2 separate regions of the Homo sapiens genome follow, and region 2 is linked to region 1. Evidence: promoter capture Hi-C in 16 types of primary human blood cells and fetal thymus (Javierre and others, 2016). All regions are on one chromosome and are shown on one strand. Each heading gives the region's core, a stretch centred on a gene start or on the middle of the fragment in contact. The rest is flanking DNA. Distances are from core to core; before and after follow the strand shown.

Region 1 (6,709 bases), core at 3,229-5,728:
TGACATTGAGCTGGTCGCTCAAACTTTCTGTGTCTCGGTTTCCTTATTGGTGAATTGGGGATAGTATTATAATAGTACCTGCCACACAACGTTGTTGGAGGATTAACTGAGATAATAAATGGAAAGCCCAGGGCCTGGCTGTATTTATGGAGCAAGCACCAGAGCAAGTGCAAGCTGGGACTCCAGGGTTGTAGCCCTGCCACCACCTGACTGTGTGGTCTTGGACAAGTCATTTGGCTTTGCTTAGCCTCAATTTCCCCATCTATAAAATGGGGCTAGTGATCATTCCCACCCCATAGGACTGTTGTGTGGATTAAATGCTTGGTATGTTTAAGTGCCTTGCTCAGTAAACGTTAGCTCTGATCAATTGTTTTTGTAGAAAAGCCTTCAAAGTTGCTAACTTCCGAGGGCTAACTGGATCTGAACCATCTTCACAGCCTGGCATAGAAACAGATCAAATCAATCCAGTGGAAAATCAATTCCAGGATAATGAGCCCAAGACATTCCCGTGCTGATTGCTGTCAGCATGGTGCCTAGGACAGCCTGGGAAGGCAGGGAGGAGGGCATTTCTCCACAGCAGCCTCGGAACCTCTATCGCCACCCTCCGGGGGGCCCACCTGTCCCCCGCCTGCCCTTCAAGGTGCTCTTTGATTTCTCCCCAGCAGAATTCACCTGCTGCATCCATCATCAGAAGAGGCCAGGAATGCGGCCTGCTGGGTGGGCAGGGCCAAGAAGAAGGCAGCCGTGCAGGCCCAGGAAGCCGTAGGAGACTTGCCAACCTCCAGGAGGGGGCCAGCCCTGGACCCTGCAGACAGGCGCTCTGGGGAGGGTACCAGAAGCTCACTGTTTGTCCCGGCTTGAAGGCTGTTTGCTGTGTGACCTTGGTGAGTCTCCTAACCTCTGTGTATCATCACAATCATTATCACTATTTTTACTCTCCTCCTCTTCCTATTTGCCGGTTAAGAGAGGATTGGGATAGTGGTCATGGTTATACAACATTGTGAATATTCTAAAAACCATTGCATTTTACACTTTAAAATAGTTAATTGGTAATTTTATGTTATGTGAAATTTATTCCAATTAAAAATTAAAAATACATACATGAATTTAATGTTACAAAGGGAGAGAGAGGACCGGGAATTTAAAAGCAGGTGTTTGTGGTGGGACGGGGACCTGTCTGAGGAAGGATACTTCAGAAGGCAAGTCCTGGCATCCACTTGCTCTTTGTCAAAAGGGAAATTGTTACTCTCTGACTCCCAGCAAGGATAATAAATTCTTACTTGGCTGACTTTTTGCTCAATGGCTCAAAGCATTTTCTTGTATCTCGTTTATTTACTTTTATTTTTATCACCTTTTGTCACGAGAAAAGTCAGGCCCAGAGAGAAGTGGCTTTTCCAAGATCACATGGTAGGTCAGCAGTGAAGCTGTGCCTCGAACCTGGGACCTTTCAGGCTAAAGGAAACCAGAACATGCCACGCCCAGATATGCCGATATGGCATCCTGATTATCTCCAGCTGAAGGCATTTGAGAAAGAGCAGCTAGAGAGAGGGCTATCTGAACTGCCCTGTCCTGCCTGCAGCAAGCCATAAACATTCCTTGGAGAAAGATGCTTTCCCAGCATCAAGATGAGAAGATAACTTTTATCAGCTCAGAGATGGCACCAGAGCCATCTACAAATACAAACAAACCTTGCTATCCTACTCCTTAGCTCACTTCCACATGTTTACCTTCTCACAGCTTGCCACCCCTGGAAGCCTACAACTGCATTCGTCTTGTCACCTTTCTCTTCTTTCTTTCTTTCTCTCTTTCCTTTCCTTTCTTTTCCTTTCCTTTCCTTTCCTTTCCTTTCCTTTCCTTTCCTTTCCTTTCCTTTCCTTTCCTTTCCTCCTTTCCCTCTTTTTTTTCCTTTTTTTTCTGAGACAGGCTAGGGTGCAGTGGCGCGACCATAGCTCTCTGCAGCCTCTAACTCCCAGACTCAATTGATCCTCCCACCTGATCCTCCTGAGTAGCTAGGACTACAGTAGCTGGGCATGCCACCATACCCAGCTAATTTATTTTCAATTTTTCTGTAGAGATTGGATCTCACTATGTTGCCCAGGCTGGTCTCGAACTCCTGGCCTCAAGCAATCTGCCCACCTCAGCCTCCCAAATTGCTGGGATTCCAGGCATGAACCACCGTGCCCAGCCATCTTGTCACTTTCTAAAATGCATTGCTCTTCATGGCAGATGCTCCATAAGCCAGAGTTCTAAGCCGCAGCATTGAGTTACTTTCACTGAGGCTTCTCCTGCGTGGTGTGCATCACAGACATTAACAAACTTGCTTTTTTTTCTCTATTATTAATCTGTCTTTTGTTACAGTGTCTTTCCCAACAAATAACTTAAGATGATTGAGGAGAAATTATATTTCCTTCCCAGCTGGCTAATTCCAAATGTGTCCTCAAGCCTGGTGCTTGGACTCAAACCCTGCCACAGGTCAAGAATGCCACACCAAGCAGACGCTGTGTTAGAGGGGCACCTGAGGTGACATGTTTGACAGATCACATAACTGAATAACTGCATTTTCTGAAGGAAAATCAACGAAGTGCTTTGAGGCCAAGTAGATGGGATTCTTGAGGATTCCATGAATAGCAAATAGTAGTATCCCCCTCAGAGGCTCTTGGGTGGGGGCATTAAATGTGTTAATACATGTGTTTGCTGCAGGTATAGCCAGAATATGTGAAAGCAGCTACAGGGAATAGAGTGTAGCAAACTCCTAATCATCCCTCAAAACCCTGCCCTGGTGTCCTCTCCCTTGTAAACTTTCCTTGAACAAGGCAGAACCAGCTACATCAGCACCATACCATCCCTCCATCACTACAGATATCACTCTGTACTATAATTATCCATTTATTTTTCTAGGCCTTGCACTCCCTAAGGCCAGGATTCTGACTCTTTCCCTGAGTGCTGTTTACCTGAACTGAACCGGCATGAACCACCACGCCCGGCCATCTTGTCACTTTCTAAAATGCATTGCTCTTCGTGGCAGATGCTCCATAAGCCAGAGCTCTAAGCCGCAGCATTGAGCCGCAGCATTGAGCTGAAGCCTGAAGGGAAGATGGCTTTGATATGTTAAAACTCATTCCAGTTTACTCCTATTTTTCATTCATTCATCCACACATTCACTCAACAAAGATCCTTGAGCTCTGATATCCATGTCTTTTTTGTGGCTCTTAGTTTATCTTTGACAAAGTTAATATATTATGCTGAATTTAACTTGGGAAAGACAAGAAGGAAATGAGTGGACAGTGGTAGCAAAGTGTTGGGACGGTGAGATCAAGGGTGACTTTTTTTCCCTTTGCTTCTCAACTTCTCCCTAATGTAGTTGTTATTTTACTTTTATGATGGAAAAATGCATATGTATGGGAATACTGTATTTCAGGCATTATAAGGAATGAAATTATAGGCCGGGCATGGTGGCTAACCCTTGTAATCCTAGCACTTTGAGAGGCTGAAGTGGGCAGATCACTTGAGCTTCAGAGTTCGAGACCAGCATGGACAACATGGTGAAACCCAGTCTCTACCAAAAACACAAAAATATTAGCTGGGTGTGGTGGTGCATGCCTGTAGTCCCAGCTACTCAGGAGGCTGAGGTGGGAGGATCGCTTGAGCCTGGGAGGCAGAAGTTGCAATGAGCAGAGATCGTGCCACTCCGCTCCAGTCTTGGTGACAGAATGAGACTCCATCTCAAAAATAAATAAATAAATAAAATAAATGAAATGAAATTATAAGAAATTACCACTTTTTCATGTAAGAAGTGATCATTTCCATTATAAGGGAAGGAATTTAATCCTACCTGCCATTCCACCAAAGCTTACCTAGTGCTAAAGGATGAGGTGTTAGTAAGACCAACATCTCAGAGGCCTCTCTGTGCCAATAGCCTTCCTTCCTTTCCCTTCCAAAAACCTCAAGTGACTAGTTCAGAGGCCTGTCTGGAATAATGGCATCATCTAATATCACTGGCCTTCTGGAACCTGGGCATTTTCCAGTGTGTTCCATACTGTCAATATTCCCCCAGCTTCCTGGACTCCTGTCACAAGCTGGAAAAGTGAGAGGATGGACAGGGATTAACCAGAGAGCTCCCTGCTGAGGAAAAAATCTCCCAGATGCTGAAAGTGAGGCCATGTGGCTTGGCCAAATAAAACCTGGCTCCGTGGTGCCTCTATCTTAGCAGCCACCCTGCTGATGAACTGCCACCTTGGACTTGGGACCAGAAAGAGGTGGGTTGGGTGAAGAGGCACCACACAGAGTGATGTAACAGCAAGATCAGGTCACCCACAGGCCCTGGCAGTCACAGTCATAAATTAGCTAACTGTACACAAGCTGGGGACACTCCCTTTGGAAACCAAAAAAAAAAAAAAAAAAAAGAGACCTTTATGCAAAAACAACTCTCTGGATGGCATGGGGTGAGTATAAATACTTCTTGGCTGCCAGTGTGTTCATAACTTTGTAGCGAGTCGAAAACTGAGGCTCCGGCCGCAGAGAACTCAGCCTCATTCCTGCTTTAAAATCTCTCGGCCACCTTTGATGAGGGGACTGGGCAGTTCTAGACAGTCCCGAAGTTCTCAAGGCACAGGTCTCTTCCTGGTTTGACTGTCCTTACCCCGGGGAGGCAGTGCAGCCAGCTGCAAGGTGAGTTGCCTTCATTTCTGGGGAAGCGGCTGTTTTGAGAGGGTTTTGTTTCTTCCTCTTTGAGAAGGCTCAGAAAATTGTGGGAATTTTCTGCCTACAGAGAGAAGGTGTTGGAAAGTCTAGGTAAAAAAATGCCGACATGAGGTTTGGTCATTTGAACATGGCATCTTGGTCAGATTTCTTTTCTGCAAATATTAGCTGTGGTTGTTACATGACAAGGAAAAACTTTCTGAAAAGTTCAAAATGGGAGTTTGTATCTGCTAAGAATTTTTTTTAACAGAGATTATCTTATCAGTCCTTATAACATGTAACCTCCCCACAAATCCTGGTAAGATGGATATATTAAACCCATTTTATGGATGAATAAATGAGTTTCAGTTAAATAACTTGATCCAGGACACATAACTGGTAGAGCTAGGATTCCAGGATTTGAACCCAGGTCTATGGGGCTATAAGTTCTTTTCTTTCTTTCCCTCTTTCCTTCCTTTCCTTCCTGTCCTTTCCTCCCTTCCCCTCCCTTCCCTTCCCTTTCTTTCTTTTTTTTTTTTGGAAACAGCCTTGACTGCCCAGCCTCAAGCAATCCTTCTGCCTCAGCCTCCCGAGTAGCTGGGACTACAGGCACAAGACACCATGCCTGCCTGGCTAATTTTTCAATTTTTTGTAGTCAAGGTCTCCCTATGTTGCCCAGGCTGAACTCGAACTCTTGGACTCAAGCGATCCTCCTGCCTCGGTCTCCCGAAATGCTGGGATTACAGGCGTGAGCCACTGCACTTGGCCTAAAATTCTTACATGGACTATATTCACTACACTGTCTTCTAAAGACAGAGTTTTTGCCTCTTTGATCTTCCTCTTGTCTGTTTCAAAGGAGATGATCTCAGATTTCGAGGGATGAGTGCATTTTTCACAAATATTTCCTCCCCACATAATAAAAGAGGAGCAAGTAATAATGCTGAGTTAGAACAACAACTGCAAAATCTTTAAAAGAAAGGTAGCTACAGCTTGAGTGCTTTCCCCAGTAATAGACCTAAAACTACAGTTGATAATGAGAGCTGCTGGGAAGTGTCTTTCAGGGTCAGGCAAAGGCACCCCTGTTTCAACGACCTCCGGGCTCTTCCTCACCCTGCCTGTGGCCAGTGATGAAGCCTGGCTGGGTCTGGTGGGCCAGCAGGTCCCGCTAAGGAGGCTCATGGTGCATACAGTTTGTCCTTGTTAAGTGGCGATGGGGATGGGGGGGTTCATTGTTTTTCCTTAAGATTATTAGGTGGCTTTACAGAATTGAAGTCTGTGTCCGAAGGCTCCCCATTCCAACCCCGAAATAGAGACAGAGGTTGCAAAGCATTGATGAAGGGGCTCATGCTGGCGTTCATATCGATTCCCCAGTGAGCCAACCCCACTGAGAAGCCCTGTTCTGTAAACTCTTCTTCAACCTTCCCTCACCTCTGCTTCCCTTCTTCAGCCCCACAGTGAAGAACATCTGAGCTCAAATCCAGATAAGTGACATAAGTGACCTGCTTTGTAAAGCCATAGAGATGGCCTGTCCTTGGAAATTTCTGTTCAAGACCAAATTCCACCAGTATGCAATGAATGGGGAAAAAGACATCAACAACAATGTGGAGAAAGCCCCCTGTGCCACCTCCAGGTGAGTTTTCCCTGGGGGAACCTCCTGCTTGTCTCCTTGGGCACCCATGCCCTGTCGGCACCGATGACTCAGAATTCCTCTCTCTGCTCCTCCTCTCTCACCTGAGGTCTGATCTCCTCATTGCTTCTTGAAAGTCCCTGTTGGAATTCAATGCAGCCGCTGATTATTGGGCACCTCGCTGTGCCTGACGGTATGTGAAGAAGGAAGGGACATGGTGCGGGGCTGGCCCTGAAGAAGCTTGGAATCTTTGGGGAAGAATATGGGAAGGAGCTTGGCCTGAGAATGGGAGGCAGTAGAGCCTCGTGGTGGGCACCATGGCGGAGGGGTGGGGGTGGAGGGTCAGCATCCTGGCCTGCGTCCATTCCAATTCACCGCTTGCTAGATGCTTTGAATATCATCCTG
Region 2 (7,494 bases), core at 2,409-4,908, 340 kb after region 1:
CACCAGCTCCTGCCAGGATGAAGTAGCCTCACAACTTCTGTTTACAGATTAATACCCTGGTTTCAAATTGTGCCTCCCTCCCTTTATATTTAGAGAGGGAAAATGTGTATGATGAAAACTGCTGATCTCCAGGAACGTGTGTGAGTTTGAGAAGAGTCAGGCACGCTGCTAGGCACACAGGCAGCAAACGTTAAGTCTCAGCTCCTTCTACCCTTTTCCATCCAAACTGGACCACCACACAGAGAAAAGCTATCCCCGGACAACCAGACACGCTGACCCACTACACCCCATCACAACCCAATTTCAGGCAGCAGCAGCCCATCCCTGGTCAGGGACCTCCACGGACATTTCACGTGCTGCTTCTCCCACTGAGTGTTTATTTAATGAAGGCCAGAGTGAGCTGGGGCTCCTCAGATTCTAGATAAGTCCGATGCAGTTGCACAGGCCAAGCCCTCCAGGTCAGATCCTTCTTCAAAAGCCAGGAATCCAGTGTTGCAAGCACAGTCTCTGGGGCCACGGCCTGGTGTGTGGGGAGCCCACAGAACAGGAAAGAACGCTGGAGTGGACACTGCCACTTGCCTGCCTGGCCCCAACACATGCTGCTGGCGGTGGACGGTCCCACCCAGCTTGCTGAGATTGTTTCCTGGCTTGTGTCACCCACCTGTATGAAATGAGAGGCAGCTGCAGAAGTACCTTTCCCTAAAATCCAGATTTACTGAACCCATAAAGTAGGGGGTTAAGTTTCCCTAGCAAGGGTCCAGTAGGGGTTAAGTTTCCCTAGTGGTGGCCTGTGCCATAAATGCTACTGGACCCTCACTAGGGGCAGCTGCCAGGCAGACTCTTTTCGTAGTATCAGCACGGACTGACAGACAAAATGCTGCAGGTGTGAGCAGTCTCGTTCCTATTTTACAGACAGGAGAGCTTGAGATTCAGAAGTCATGGGACTTGCCTAAGGTCACACAGACAGAACCCAGGCCCAGTATGAAAGCCATGGGGCTTCCTATTCACCACGCTGCTCCTATGGCAAAGATTCTTCTAATAAACTTAACCCCTATGTTATGGGTTCAGTAAATCTGGATTTTAGAACCATTCTTAAAGAGGGTTATTCTTAAACCAGGGTAGTATAAAAACAATCACAAACATTTGATTTCACCCAACCAAGTCTCCTTCTCTAACCTAGAGAATTTCGAGCTTCCAGAGCCCTCAGAGATCCACTCCAGCCTCCTTGTTTTGCAGGTGAGGAGGCTGAGGCCTCCGGGATGAAGTGACTCATCTAAACTAGCTGGTGGCAGCCCCATGGAACTCACTCCAGGGGTCTAAATTCCCATCCCCCAAAACAACCCAGGCCCTGCCTTTTCAGGAAGTGGAGTGAACCCGAATCCACATCACGGTGGGAAGAACAGGGAGCTGCAGATCCCCTGTGGGCCTTTGGATGGGTTCTCTGCTGCCAGGGATGATCGTCTAAACAAACACTCAGGAGGGAAGCCACTGAATAAACCAGCTCCAACACTTAAATAGCTGGATGCTCTGGGGTGTCATGAACGCCACACTGCCATCAAAATGAGGGACTCCGGAAGTTAGGGTAGGACAAAAGGCCATTCCAGAGAATGCACAGCAAGTGGTTCTCCTATATACACACTCTGGAAGCCAGGAGCACTTCAGAGCAACGTGGGGACAATCCCACAGAGGCCAACACAGAGAGCATTCTCCAAGCCCAGCAACACCGAAGTCCAACCACGCACACTCTGCCAGACAGCGACCCCTCCTCCCGGAACTGAGCCTCACAGGCCCCCTATTGTTGTCAGCTTAAAAACTGAACTTTGCTGAGCAAACACACTCAGCTGTGTTCAAAAAATCAGTTTCTCTCAATACTTGGAAAACTGCAGCATGCATGCAGAAAGGCCAGTTGTAGGGGGTTTTGTTTGTTTTTTAAGCAAAGCCTTGGTCAGTACAGCTTTAGCCAACTGTAATAAAAAATAATAATACCCAGCACTGACTGTATTCTTCCAATGTCCTGTGGTTTTATAGCTTTTAAGAAAATAAAACTGAGGGAGAGTCACCCCCGAGCATTTGGAATCAAACAAGGATTCGGCTTTGTGGCATGCCTGGAGGAAGGATTGGTCTTGTAATAATTACCGCGATCACAGAGGGCCTTATGACAGCTGGCAGAGGCAATTAGCAATAAGGGGCGGGGGGAGGGTTTGGGGGAGGAGAAATTGAGGATCTAATAAAACAAAACATCCCCAGACCTGCAGGAGGCCAGATGTGGCAGGGCAAGATGGTGAGAGGTTCCTTCTTCAAGACGGGGCAGCTATTAACTGGTCTGACGTTTCACCGCCCCGTCCCTGGCCAAAATCACATTCAGAATCCACTAGTTGCCCTCATTTGTGTATGGACAGGGTGCCCCAACAACCCTCGGGCTGGTTTTTCCAAATCCTTCAGATACTTCCCCAGCTATAATTTGAGAGAGGAAGGCCCGCATATCTTATTTCTTCTTTACACTCCAGACTGTCTCCATCAGAACCCTTTAAACAGTTTCATCTTCCCACCAAAGGCTTGCTTCCCAGCATAATCCTTCCTAAGCCTAAATCCAATCTTTGGGGGGAAGCAGGGGGAGTCAGCGGGTAATTATTAATACATTTTAAGCAGCGAGCCTCCGTGGCAACGTGAAAGGAAAGCACCAAACGCCTGAATAACAAAAATGCAGTTTCAGCAACACTTTTTGAAAAGGCGGCAGACAAGACCTGAGAGGAGAGGAAAGGAAGGGACAGGACGGCGTCTGGGGCGTGAGGGGAACAGGGGACGGCAGGCCTGCGATCACGCTTCAGGGGAACCTCCTCCGTCACCCTGGCCCACGGGTGCTCGGCTCAGTCACACGGGGAAAAGTCCAGCTTGTGACTCGGTGGGACAACGAGTCCTGCGGCCCCGCAAACTGGAAATGGGGTGGGGGCGGAGAAGGGGGGAAAGGGGATGTCCGCGCGCAGCCCACCCCGCACGGGCCCCTCGAGCCTCCATCCCAGTTCCCACGACGCACCCGCCCCACAAATCCTGCCCAAGATGAGGGCTGGTCCCGGGTCCTCCGGCTGCCGCATCAGCGAGTGCAGGAGGGAGGGGAAGCCTCCAAGGGGGGCGACGCGGGCTCAAGGATGCAACTCGGCCAGGAGTACTGGGGCCCGGAGGGAGGTGTCCGGGCCCGCTCCTCGAGCCCAGCCTGGTCCCCGACCCACTTACCTCCAGGGTCCGTATCTCCTGCTGGGTGAGGTCGTTGGACACAGCGCACTTGGTGCGCAGCCCGCGCAGGCTGCCGATGGAGATGTCGATGAGCTTCTGGAGCTGCCCGCACTGCTGCAGCGCCCGGCTGGCCGCGGCCCCTGCGCCTCCCTCCGCGGCCGCCGCATCCCCCCCGCCACCGCCCTCCTTCTTCTCTCCCATCGCCGCCGCGCGCAGCGCTGCTCTATCCATGCCTCGGCATCGGGGCCGCGGCGGCCGAGGCTGGGAGCCCGGGGCGCGGGCGCCTCGGCAAGGAACCCCCGAGCCAGGAGAGCTGGACCAGGAGCGCCCCTCGGCGCTGCCCGAGCCGGGACGCCGGTAGAGCCGGCCGCTGAGTCTGCCGCTTCCACCCTCCCAGCCGCGGCAGCAAAGCGAAAGCCGCGGCGACCCGACGGCTGCGGCTCCCGGAGCCTTTAAGCGGCGGCGGGGGCTGGGTCAGGGCGGCCGGGCATGCTGGGACTTGTAGTCCACGCCGCGCACCTGCCGCCGGCCTCCGCCCTCGGGGCCCCGGACCGCGCCCGCGCCGCCCTCCCTGCCCTCCTCTCCCCTCCCCTCCCGGCGGCCGCGGCGAGGCAGGCGGTGAGGGCCGGCCCCAACCGGGAGCCCCGGGTGGAGCTGCTCCGCGCCAGCTCCTCCCCCAGGCGCCGAGAGTCGGGGGAGCAGCGTCTCCCCGTCCGCCTCCGTCCCCCACCCGGCCTAGGAGCTTCCCGCGACCCCCGGATGGGGCGGCGCCCCCTGGACGCCCGGCGGGTGTGCGTCCCGCAGTTCCTCAGCTGCAGCCCAGCCCTGGAAGATGGGGACCAGGGAGGTTCCAGGATTTGTATGTGGGTTTAGGGGCTGCCATCTAGTGGGAAGGGGCTTACAGCACTTCTGTAGCTGGCTCACAAAGCGCTCTACTCTGGACTGCCTGCGCCAAAACGATTGCTCAGGCTTGGAGAAAGACGAAGAGCTTTCTTCTGAACCACATTTACCTGCCAAAATAAGTGTCCCATTCCCCCGCCATTCCCAGCCCACCAAGCCAGCCCAGACACGGGGGACAGCACACTGAATTGTCGGTGGCTTCGGAGCAAGTGGCCAGGATTCAAATTCTGACTCCACCACGGTCTAGGGTGAGACTTTGGGCACGTTCGATTTCCAGTGAATGCCCGACTCTCCTCATCAAATAACTCTTTAATAGGGTTCCTATGAAGAATCAGTTAATACATGTACAGCACCTAGATTGATTACTGGCACATGTGGTCGCTGGATAAATGTTAGCAATTCTTACTATCTAACCTCAGATCTGAATGTGGCCCTGGACCCAGGTAGTGGCCATGGAGCAGTACAGTACTGCCAAGGACTGGTAGTCCTTTGTCCTCTGTGCATTTCTGTGCCTCCTAACCCAGCAATCAAGCCTTGCCCATCTGTTCACCCTCCTCTCCCATTAGTTCACCCCATGCGTTCTATTATCTGGCAAAACTGAAAAACCAAGTCTCTGATCAAAGCTCCCACACCTTCATGCTTTCGACATCTGTCAACCAGAAAAAATGTCTCCCCTCTCAATTTTCTCTTGTAAGCTGCTTGATTGCAGAAGCCACTAGCTATTGTACCCTCTTTATAGTGCCAGATACAGTGCATGGCACACAAGAAAGGCTCCAGCGTGCCTCAGGAGCTCTTTCAGCAGGTCCTATGGGATGTTTCTTTTACCTCTCAGGCCAGCCGAGGGTGTGTGTGTGTGTGTAGATAGACAGTTGTTTTTTTGGTTTTGTTTTTGTGTTTGAGGATGAGAATTGGACAGGAGGTGGGATCCAAACCTTGTAGACACTAAAACAATCAATAATGGATGGCAGTTTGTATTACACCTTCCTTTAATGTTTATATTACACCAGCCTTCGAAATAAATTAAGGGCTGGGCACCGTGGCTCATGCCTGTAATGCCAGCACTTTTGAGAGGCCAAGGGGGAAGGATCACTTAAAGCCAGGAGTTCGAGACCAGCCTGGGCAATGTGACAAGACCCTGTCTCTAAAAAAAATAATAAATTTTTAAAAATCAGGTCTAGGAAGCAAAACTATAACTTTAAAACTTGTTTTTGCAAATTAACCCCTCCTCGAGATTTTCCAAATGCAAGGAGGTTCCTCCCTAACCCCTGGCCTTTCCCATTGAGAGTCATTGATCCAGTCCTCACTCAACTTATAAAAAGACCGCCTGCACGATATTATGAATTTCTCAACCTGTTACCTTAACCCCATCCGACTCCTTGCAAAGTAGTAACTATTATGAAAGGGAAACTAGTTGTGGTTCTCAAACTTGAACATGCATCAGAATCACTTGGAGGGCTTGTTAATTCCCAGAACCATGGAGCTCACCTCTATAGTTTCTAATTTTGTAGATCAGAGGACAGGGCAGGAGAATCTGCATTTCTATCAGGTTCTCAGGTGGTACTGATGTGGTTAGTCTGAGCCCAGTCGCAAGTCTATACTTTGAGAAGCCTAGGCACAGAGGAAGGTCAGTGGGCAGAGAACTATCTCAAGGGACTATCCACAACCCAACCTGGCTGGTTCAGAGCCTCTGTCCAGCAGCCAGAGCTGCCAGGCTTGAACGACTCACTCATTCTAACACAATTCACAAAAGATTTTTTTTTTTTTGAAACAGGGTCTTGCTCTGTCACTCAGGCTGGAGTACAGTAGCATGATCATGGCTCAGTGCAGCCTCGACCTCCCAGACTCAGGCGATCCTCCCACCCCAGCTTCCCAAGTAGCTGGGACTATAGGAGTGTGCCACCATGCCCGGCTAACGTTAACTTTTTTTTTTTTTTCCTTTTTTTTAGAAATGGAGTCTCTCTACGTTGCCCAGGCTGCTGGTCTCAAACTCTCGGGCTCAAGCAATCCTTCCCCTTCAGCCTCCTGAAGTGCTGGGATTATAGGCGTGAACTACCATGCCTGGCTCACAAGAAATGTTCTGGTAAGTGCCTATTTATGCACTTACATCAAACTTGTTATTGCCACAGGGACCTGGTCATCACATTCTCCCTCTAGGGCCACTTTATGTGGGAAGCCACATCCTGAGAAGAGCCACTGCCAGCTTGTGGCATTCATGCCCACCCATGTCACCACAGGGGTGATGTCAGAGCCTGAGACTGGACAAATGCCAGCTCCCTGGTTACTCTCCCGCCAGGTTCCATGCAGCGAGTCTGTCCTCTGTGGATACAGTCTTCCCTCTGATTATCCAGAGCATTCAGCAGGCCACAGTTTTCCTTCCTCACAGATGGCCTCCAGCCTTCTTGCCTGGATTTGAGTCATCTGTCAGCCACAAGTTTACAGAACTGCCCCTCAGAGGTGGAGAAACTTTTTTGTTTTTGTTTTTTGTTTTTAAGAGACAGGGATTTGCTCTGTTGCCCAGGTTGGAGTGCAGTGGTGCGAGAAAGCTCACTGCAGCCTCAAAAGTCCTGGGCTCAAGCCATCCTCCTGCCTCAGCCTCCTGAGTAGCTGGGACTACAGGTGCCTGCCACCGCATCTGACTAATTTTTAAATTTTTTGTAGGGACAGGGTCTTGCTGTGTCATGTAGACTGGTCTCAAACTCCTGTTCTTGGCCTCACTCTCCCAAAAGTGCTAGGATTACAGGCATGAGCCATGGCACCTGGCCGAAATAAGGATTTTTAAATAATCCCTTCATTCATCCTTTTAACATTCAGTAAGCATTCATGAAGTGCCACTTACATGGCAGGCCCTGTTCTGGGCTCTGGAAAAGGGTAGTGAACAAAATGAAGATTCTTACCCTTAGGGAATTTATGCTGTGGTGAGAGGAAACAGACAAGCAGATAAATGCACAGTGTGTCAGTGGTAACAGGTGGTATGGCACTGCAGGGAAGGGGACAGGGAATATGGCCTTTACAACTTCGAATAGAGCTGTTTTAGAGAGTAGGGTAGTCAGCTCTGTCTCTGAATCGCTGTATGACCTTTGACGAGTCTTATATGACCTCGGGCAAATCTCCTAATCTGGTAGCACAGCTTCTTATTTGCAAGATGGTGATAATGTTTTATGAGGATGAACAGATTATATAACACAAAGTAATGGTCATAAAATAAGGGTTCGGCATATTTATTTATTTGATAAATATTTACTGTATGTCTACTGAAACTGTTCCAAATGCTTAACTCATTGAACTATGCATTACTTTCTTCCTCACCTTCCAGAATGAATCTCTTCTAGTTAGATGAATTGATCTATTATGTGTTGATTCAGG

What was found. Contacts are between HindIII fragments. The CHiCAGO score rates a contact against its expected background, and 5 or more counts as called.
Region 2: a contact is called between the fragment with the promoter of KSR1 here and the fragment with the promoter of NOS2 in region 1, in 1 of 17 cell types (monocytes). The highest score is 5.3, in monocytes.

What each region holds. Positions count from the first base shown.
Region 1 is chr17:27,798,298-27,805,006 of GRCh38, reverse strand. It overlaps NOS2 (nitric oxide synthase 2), which reads left to right and starts at 4,478. Exons shown (of 27, transcript NM_000625.4): 1 at 4,478-4,668; 2 at 6,125-6,307. The coding sequence starts at 6,198. RefSeq lists cis regulatory regions at 981-1,120, 1,779-1,914, 3,941-3,963, an enhancer at 4,276-4,304 and promoters at 1-4,514, 4,273-4,565, 3,448-4,565, 1-4,645. The HindIII fragment of the contact is 2,695 bases long and covers 3,852-6,546 here.
Region 2 is chr17:27,452,612-27,460,105 of GRCh38, reverse strand. KSR1 (kinase suppressor of ras 1) reads right to left here and starts at 3,658. Exons shown (of 21, transcript NM_001394583.1): 1 at 3,232-3,658. The coding sequence starts at 3,462. RefSeq lists silencers at 2,799-2,848, 3,369-4,128 and an enhancer at 3,492-3,993. The HindIII fragment of the contact is 16,082 bases long and covers 1-7,494 here.